Linked DNA regions of Homo sapiens: region 1 is linked to region 2. Evidence: promoter capture Hi-C in 16 types of primary human blood cells and fetal thymus (Javierre and others, 2016). All regions are on one chromosome and are shown on one strand. The core of a region is centred on a gene start or on the middle of the fragment in contact, and the rest is flanking DNA. Distances in the headings are between cores, read along the strand shown. Region 1 overlaps CNST (consortin, connexin sorting protein). Region 2 holds the start of SH3BP5L (SH3 binding domain protein 5 like).

Region 1 (4,542 bases), core at 215-2,714, 2.3 Mb before region 2:
CACACCCAGCCTCTTTTGGCTTTTAAATGACAACTGTAATTGGGAAATGCCAAGTGATAGTCCTTGCTTGCTGTTAGAATTAAGGCTGTAGGTCTGTAGCAGCAGTCTTCAATAGAAATACAATGCAAGCCATATAAGTAATTTAAAATTTTCTAGTAGTGGTATTAAGAAAGTAAAAAGAAACAGGTAAAATTTTAGTAGTATATTTTATTTAATCTTATATATGTTATTTTAACATGAAATCAATTTTTAAAATGAGATATTTTACATTATTTGATACTAAATCTATAAAATCTGGTATTTTATACTTACAGCACATCTCAGTTTGGAGAAGCCACATTTCAAGTGCTCAACAGTCACATGTAGCTAAATGTTACCTTACTGAGCAGCACAAATGATAGGATGGTCACATGATTTTTAAGCTGTCTTCCTACACTGAGAGTCTGATTCTGTGGGGTAAATTAAAAACTCCTCTTCCTGAAGTACTGCGGTATTTAATTTGAGAAGTTTCTATGCAGGAAGAGAGTTCTAAGTCTCTTCCTTTTAGTGTTTTTGTTTTGTTTTGTTTGTTTTGAGACAGATTCTCATTCTATTGCCCAGGCTGGAGTGCAGTGGCAGTCCCGGAGCCCTGAACTCCTGGGATCAAATGATCCACCTCAACCTCTCAAAGTGTTGAGATTACAGGCGTAGCCACCATGCCCAGCCTCTTTCTCTTAGTGTTGACTGTGTTAACGTTGAGCCCCATGCTTGTTTAATGAGGCTCATAAGATGAATAGTGTTCAGTCATTTCCTGGCGTGTCATTGTTACTAGTTATTTACATCTGCACGTCAACAGTGTGTCAAGGCACAGTATGAGTTTCTGTCGACTAAATTGTAGGGAGAACTTGAGGACCTTCAAGAAGATTGAACTTTATTGTGAACAGGTAGAGTACCTGTTGTTGCAGAGTTATTTTCTGAGTCAGTTTCAGGTAAGGCTAAGAGTTTTATAAATGTGCTTCTTTATATCATGGTGTTTCTTACCAAGGGAAAGATCAAATCTTTGAGCAAAATTTAGAAAGGAAGAGAGTAGGTTTTATGGCTGTAGAATGCTGGGAGCCTGAGTAAAGTAAAAGATTAACTTGTGTATGGTGGTTTAGGGGAATTTAAAAGGAAAGATGGCAGTTTTTATATAAAGCAACTGACATACTGTCTCCATACGTGCTTCAAGTTGTTTTTGCAACAAGGGTGGTGATTTACGTAGAACCGTCAGTGGTTCAGAGCTGCTGTAACAAAGGTAACTCTAAAGCCAGTTAACCTCCATGGGGATCAGTCAGACCCATCATTGTTCCTGTCTTGACCTCTGTGCTCTAATAAACTTCCCTAAATACTACTTTAGCTGCTGTGTGTTATATCTACATTAATAGCTAAATTAGCCTGAAGGCCTAATTAATATTCAGTGTAATTTAATACAGGAAACATGCCCTCTTCTCAACCTTTATAGTATGAAGAAATTTTAAATTACCTGGTCAGTGAACAAACTCCCTCTGTCAAATATAGTCATGATAGACCTGGCACAATGTAGGGACTATGGGGAGTGTTAGAGGATCAAAGACAGAATTGGGGAAGGGGTATAGTTACTGGATGTTACTTGTTCTGTGAGAGATGTGTGGATGTTCTATAAGAAAATAATAATGTTTTTTGTTTGTATTTAAAACTAGATAGCTGTTTATTGGCACCCTTTTAGTTGGATAAGAGAAAATACATTGCTTGGTTTCTACAAGTGAGTCTTAGCAAATTTATTGTAGTTATTTTAGGAAGAGTAATTGATAGTGCAGTAATCTTCAGTTTTTAAAAAGCCCTGATAAGGTTTAACTGGGCTTTAAAAGCATTATATGCTTAATGAGAAATTCTAACTTAATATATGTATGTCTTGATACTGTTATGTAACCTTTCCAGTTTAGGGCCTTCAAGATTCACATGAATACAGGCTTTCCTTTATGTAGGAATCATTCTCATGGGGGAAATTATATATCCTCTCAGGGAATAATTTTGTTTTTTAAGCATTTGAAATAATTGTTTGTAATATTCGTTAAAGAACACATCATTAGCAGAATTCTGAAGTCTTATAATAGCTTGAGATTTCTTAAATTGTTTTTATCCTTTTTGAGACAGTCTTGCTCTGTCGCCCAGGGTGGAGTGCAGTGGTACGAGATCTCAGCTCACTGCAACCTCCACCTCCTGGGTTCAAGTGATTCTCCTGCCTCAGCCTCCCAAGTAGCTGAGATTACAGGCGTGTGCCACCACACCCAGCTAATTTTTTGTATTTTTAGTAGAGACAGGGTTTCACTATGTTGGCCAGGCTGGTTTCAAACTCCTGACCTCAAGTGATCCGCCCACCTCAGCCTCCCAAAGTGCTGGGATTAAAGGCGTGAGCCACTGTGCCAGGCCAAATGGTTTTTATCTTAGTTTTGAGATCCTGCTCTTTAACATTTTGGAGATGGAAACTTTTTGCCATTATACCCTCCACCCTTCCGTCTCTTAGGACTTCCTGTTTTTCATCATCATTAGCCACGTGGAAAGGAAAGACAGTGTGTGCCTATGAAAATACTGACAAATCAAGATGATTTTTCCTTTTAGATTAAGAAAAATTCTGAAACAGTAAATGGTAAATTTTGTCATATTTATTTACTTATTTTAGAGATGAGGTCTCACTATGTTGCCCAGATTAGCCTTGAACTCCTGGGCTCAAGTGATCCTCCTGCTGTAGCCTCCTGAGCTGGGGCTATAGGCATGTGCCACACTGTCTGGTTAGTCACCCTTCATTGACATTTGGGCATTTGATATTTAAATTGACAGTATCTAGGCAATTATAGAAATTAACATTATTTTGCAATTGGCATATGTATTAAATTTTCTTATGAGAATAATTGCCCTGTTTTTTTCTGGAGAGCCACTACCTGATTAAATAATCACATATTTTTTCTACCTTAGCTGCATTTTGAAAACTCAGTGAATTAGGTGACTGTGGTTTTCTAATTTGAATGAAGGTAAAGTAACCTTTAAAAATGGTTTTTGGCCAGTCACAGCCATGCCTGGGACTCACGCCTGTAGTCCTAGCTACTCTGGAGGCTGAGGTGGGAGGATCACCTAAGCACAGGAGGTCAAGGCTGCAGTGAAGCATGACTGCACCACTGTGCTCTGCACTCCAGCCTGGGTGACAGAGTAAGACCCTGTCTCAAAAATACATACATAAATGAATTAAATACTTTTTTATATTATAGATTTTGAAATAAGTTATTAAAAAATTTGGGAACTTTATAAGATCAAATGCTGCTGTCCTTGAGTATTTGATAGTATACTGCTTATATTTTGATTTTTTGTATGCATTGTCCTTGTTCATTATTTTTCTCTTCTGCAGCTTTTATTCCCAGTATACAACTAAATCTTAAAAATAATTTTTAGATGAACTGAAAAACATTGCCTAAGATTTTTCAATAAGGATTTTTGTGAAAATGTGTGTGGTTTGTTATTTAGAGATGAGATCTCACTGTTTTGCCCAGGCTAGTCCTGAACTCCTGGGCTCAAGTGATCCTCCTGCCTTGACTTCCCAAAATACTGGGATTATAGACGTGAGCCACCACTCCCAGCCAAATGTATGTTTTATTTATTGAATAATAAATAGTGGAGTTATTTATTTATGTGTGTGATATGTGGTTTTTTTAATTATTAATTTTTTAGAAAAATAGAAGCAGGGTTTCGCCATGTTGCCTAGGGTGGTCTTGAACTCCTGAGCTCGAGCAGAGTGCCTACTTCAGCCTCTCAAAGTGCTGGGATTACAGGTGTGAGTCACTGCACCAGGCCTGAGTTATTTGTTTTTACCTCATGAAACAACAACTAACATTTTAGATTTTTTTTTCCACTTGTGAAGCATGAAAAAGTTTACTTAAATTGGATCTTACAAGGATTCATGTAACCAACAGGATTTCCTCCCTCAGCGTCAACTCACATGAAAAGAGGGGTGGACGTTTGTGCAAATTATACTGGTTATGATATTGTGAAATGTAGTTTCCTGGAAAAGTCATTATTGATACCCATTTTTGGCATCTTAATTCAAATTCAGCCATCAGGCTTTATTTTAAATGATTTACACAGCAATCTCTAGATTCTTCTTGCTACAAGTATTTTAAAAATTTTGTTGTGGAGTTCTTCGGCATGCCAGTTAGAGTTATACCTGTAGCATTGGATAAGCACTGTAAAGAGCCAAAATTAGAGGTAATACCCTTGCTCTTCCCTACTTTAATCATGTAATATAGGTCTTGTGACTTGGAAGAAGATTGTCTTATTACCATTACATTTGAACTTTTGTTTTAAAATTAATCTGTTAGATCATATATTCACCAAAGCTCATCTTTTCACTAGCCAGAGAAAGCTGTATTTCAAAATAACCTAAAGTAAAATAGTATTTAATTCAAGAAGTTAGTTTTTATTATATCAGGTGGCCTCTTGGTTGGTTATAGTTTCGTGCATTCTGATGCCTGCGGGCTTTTTATCCTTCCTGTCTCC
Region 2 (4,590 bases), core at 296-2,795:
CATCTCCTCTCACACAGCATCCCTAACTAAGGTGGCAGCCCCTCTGCTTATCTGGAAAGAAGTACAACACACCTACCCTCCACTGACCTAAAGTGTGCCTCCTCCATCTACTGCCAAGTGACACTTTGCTCCTTCAGTGAAGCTTTCAGCAATGCCTCCCAAGCACTAAGGCCAGGCCTTTCTCTGCACTCCATCAGCACTTCAGACACACAACTCTTTTGGAACTTGTTACATTACCCTGCAATGATTTGTTGACAAACTTGTTCTCCTTTCCTGCCCCAGCAGACTGGGGACAGAGTAAGTCTAAGCCCTCATTCATCCAACACTCTTCAGGGAGGCTGGAATCTGGGCTCTCCTTCTCTCCCTGCTCTCAGTGCTCTCACCTGTATTCTAGGATCCAGTTCTTCCTCCTCTCTTGGGGACAATTTGGCCTCACTGCTGCTGCTTCCACCTCCTCCAGGCTCTTCTGCGACTGGGCTCCTAGGGACTTCATCCTCTACAACTTCAGGCCGCAGCTCCCCCTGTGGGGTCTCCCGCCCTCCTGGAACCTGTCTGAGCTCAGCCATGCTGACAGGGGGAGGGCAGAGCCCTATGCACAAGAGAGGACTGACATGCTGGGACCAGGGCCCCAGCTTGGGGCTTCCTGGGCTCTAGATGGCCAGGAGAAGAGTTTCTCTTCTCAAAAGGCAGAAAAGGTGGGCACAGGAAGAACCTCACACTAGGTTAGAGGTTGAGATTCAAGTTGTCAGTGGGGTTCCTAGAGCTGAAGCCTTGTCTGTGCAAAAGTTCTTCCCTTCCCGCCACAGGGAGTCCACTGTGACAAACCCGGAGCAACAGCTCCAAGGCAGGGGGCAAAGGGGGCTTGGATCCTGGACCGAGGCCTGCTAGGAGGAGCACCATTCGGGAGGGTGGAGGCAGGCGCCTCCAGGCTGTGGTGGCAGCTGGAGAGAGAAGGCTGGGCCCGAGCTGAGGCTGTAGGATGAGCGTCTCTGGGGAGCTGCAGAGAAACAAAGGCCAAGTATATGGTCATGTCAGCATCAAAACCGCAGCCACCAGCCCCTTCCAACTCTACAGCCTCCCAAAAACTACACTCTCACCACGCCCCCACCCATGTATTCCGACCAGTCCCTACCTCAACTTCTCTCCTTAGCCCTCAAGGACTTTAGATTCTACTCTTCCCCCGTCCCAGCTCCTCTCGACCCAGGCCCTCCTCAACCAGCGCCTTCGAGACTTTCCTCTGCACCCCTAGGCTCTCCTCCATCTCCTGTGGTCTCCCGCTCGTCCCACTCCACCCCAGCCCGGCTTTGCGATTCACCTTGTAACCCCGAGCCCCACCCCACCTTCTCTGTCCAACCCGAGACATCTAAGCCTCCCGTCTCCAATTCCACACTCTTCCGCAATCCCAAGGACCCTACTCCCGTCCATTCTACCCAGCCATGCGCAAAAGCCCCCCGCACAGCCTTACCTCAGTTTACCTTCCCGTCCGCGGAGCTTCTATGCTGCAAACAATCTCCCCCCCTCCCTCCCCGCAACAAGCCGATCCAACCAAAAACGACCAGGCAGACCAGAAGCGGAAATACATCATCGGTGAACAACGCTCTCCCTCCCACGCTCTCTCTCAAGCCGGGCCTCCTCGGGAGGCCTCACACTCCCCCGCCCTGCCTTCAGTTTCCGTACAAAATGGTGCCCCACGTTGCTCAGGCTAGCCGTAGGTTGCCTCCAGACCATACTCCACCAAGGCTGAATGAAAGAAAAACATGAGAATGTGGTGCTGAAGAAAATTAGGGCGCGGGACGGAAATCGAGAGTAACTGGTGAGAAGAGGAATACTAGATATAAAACGGAGATAATAGCCTCAGAGTGAGTAGTGCCATCTTGCTTTACGGAGCTGCGGCGGCGGCTGCCGGAAAGCCACTTCCGGCCTGCTCCACGGAGGCGGGCGCGACGCCGAAAGTGAGCTGGTAAACTTCCGGCAGTGGCTCCGGGGGCAACTCGAGTCCGGACGCTGGCGGGCTTCGCGGGCGAAGGCAAAGTCGATTTCCAAAAGTGACTTTCCTCACTCCCGTGAAGTCGGCGGAACCCTCCACTAACGGCGTCTGAGCGGACGGCTCCGATGTGTAAATCCCACTCCTCGAGGCCTCTGGACCTTGCACCTTGAACGACGTTTTGGTGGGGTCACCAATTGCTCCGTGAATACTAACCAGGAACTTAGTCAACATTAACTCAGTTAATTCACTCGTGCACCCAGGGTCAGATGCCCTCGATGAGCAGGAGTTTGTTACATGGCATTGTGTATCGTTACCTAGGTCCCTGAGCGAGCGCCTGCTTGTCACCTCTAGGTGTCGCTTGGTGAGGGGAGGGCCTAGGCCTAAGGGGAAGGGCTTCATTCAGGGTTGGATGTTTTGTTTTTACAAAAGGCGTAACTTCCTCAGAGTCAACTCAAAACTTTGCCCTGCAGATGGAAAAGGCAAATGGGCTGAATTCCCCTCCTTTTTGGATCCTGTCAAAGACAACCCAGCTAGACATTGAAGCAGTGAAAAAGACTTTTTTCAGTAACTACTTACAGAAAGGAAAAGAACTGACCTCTGTTCCGATTTGTACAGAAGTGACTGGGCATTTCAAAGGGAGAATGAAGGAAGGAAGGTGATCAGGGCTCAATAGTGTTGGAGAAGTGAAAAATTACAGATTTGATTGGCATAGATGCGATTCGGCCAGATGTGTCTGCTAGCTAGCAGCTATAGAAGTTAGAGTGCTTTTTTATGTATTTATTTATTTTGAGACGGAGTTTAACTCTTGTTGCCCAGGCTGGAGTGCAATGGCGCGATCTTGGCTCACTGCAACCTCCGCCCCACCCCCACCCCCGAGTACAAGAGATTCTCCTGCCTCAGCCTCCCGAGTAGCTGGGATTACAGGTGCATGCCAACACATCTGGCTAATTTTTCTATTTTTAGTAGAGACGGGGTTTCGCCACGTTGGCCAGGCTGGTCTCGAACTCCTGACCTCAGGTGATCCACCCGCCTGGGCATCCCAAAGTGCTAGGATTAGAGGCGTGAGCCACCACGCCCAGCCTAGCTTGCTATTCTTGCACTGAGATTGGGAGGTAGAGGCTCTGCCCTTCTTGACGATCAATTTCAAAGGAATGGCTCTCAGGTCCTTTAGAAGGACCTCTTGAGTTGTAGCAGACGCATAAACACCTTAAAGAGAAGAAGGAAGGATTCATAATGGTAAGCCCTTAATAAACGCCCTGAGAAAGGGAGGTCAGGAGCCTATCATCAGGTGTTGGCTAGAACAAATAGTAAATTCTCCTGGTAGCATTGAGCTTTCTCAGGCAGGCATTTTCATGGGGGAGCTGGGGTTCTCCTAGGGACATGATCTGACACTGCTAGAAGGCATGCTAAAGTTTGTCTCTTAGTAACTCAGAGGTTTGGATGGAGTCATGTGCCAAGAGTTCTACAGTTCTCAGTCCATTTCTTCTATCCCTTCATCCCATGAATAACGATTTTTTTAAATTGAGCAGAGCAAAATATATTCCTTTAAAAGAGGTGATTGAAAACAGATTTTTCCATTAAATTGGAGGTTTTGTTTTTAAAATTACAAAAGTGATTTTTCTAATTTCAATAAGTCAGCAGGACCTTGAGTAACATTGTCTAAGTGGACAGCTTTGATGGATAATAATGCCTCAGTCTTCTACCACAGTCCTTTTTATTATTAAGGTGCCATACAAAAACCATAAAAATTAAATATAAGGTGATAAACATGATTTATTTGTTGTCTACCAGTCACTTTACTTTTGTAGAACTAGAATTTCACTGTAATAACCTCATTTTACCCAGGATGTTCTGTCTACCCTAGCCTGAATTATCTAACCTTTCTTATTCAGCACTGCTCCAATACCTGTCATTCTTATACCCCATCCCATAGCTCCTTTTCTCTGTGTAATGCTTAGCAATCACAAACTGCTGCTACGTGTCACAGATCTTTGGTGGGAAAACATTATGAATACATATAATGGCCAGACCCCTAGATCACATCCTGAGATTTAGCAGCTCCTTTAAAGTCTCCACTGGCCTCTTCCAAGGTTAACTCTCACCCACTGAGACCACATGTGAATCTATCATGTATAGATTGTGATATAATCCCACAATAGTTTTTCTGCTGGGTTTGGATAATGTTTTGGGTAGGAAGAGATTGGGCGATGCTGTGCATTGATTTAACCTGAACTTGTTTATTGAAGCCAGCACAAACATGATGAATTAAAACTTTTGTCTACAGCAGCACTGTCTGAAAGACCTTTCTGCAAAGAAGGAAATGTTAATCAGCTCTGCACAGTATGGTAGTCTGTAGACACATGTGGCCATTTAGAACTTGAAATGGAGCTACTGTGATTAAGAAGTTGTATTTTTTATTTTAATTTAAATAGCTCTGTGTAGCTAGTTTCTCCTTTCCTGGACAGCACGTTTTTAGAACCTGCCTTTTCTATATAATTTCTCCAGAATACATACTGAACTTTCACATCTTCAATACAAAACAAACAGCCTCTCAGTCTCCACTATCATTTGTCTTTTCTCCACTTCCTCCCTTCCCATTCACC

What was found. Contacts are between HindIII fragments. The CHiCAGO score rates a contact against its expected background, and 5 or more counts as called.
Region 1: a contact is called between a fragment that was not itself captured here and the fragment with the promoter of SH3BP5L in region 2, in 2 of 17 cell types (neutrophils and fetal thymus). The highest score is 7.4, in neutrophils.

The regions. Positions count from the first base shown.
Region 1 is chr1:246,569,023-246,573,564 of GRCh38, forward strand. All of the region lies in intron 1 of CNST (consortin, connexin sorting protein), which reads left to right. Among named protein-coding and RNA genes, the nearest start is that of CNST, 4.8 kb to the left of the region's middle. The HindIII fragment of the contact is 6,551 bases long and covers 1-4,542 here.
Region 2 is chr1:248,824,370-248,828,959 of GRCh38, forward strand. It overlaps SH3BP5L (SH3 binding domain protein 5 like), which reads right to left and starts at 1,546. Exons shown (of 7, transcript NM_030645.3): 1 at 1,466-1,546; 2 at 384-997. The coding sequence starts at 566. MIR3124 (microRNA 3124) reads left to right here and starts at 2,008; the gene lies at 2,008-2,074. RefSeq lists enhancers at 1,218-1,277, 1,340-1,891, 1,648-1,907, 1,892-2,442, 2,018-2,067 and 1 more. The HindIII fragment of the contact is 10,505 bases long and covers 141-4,590 here.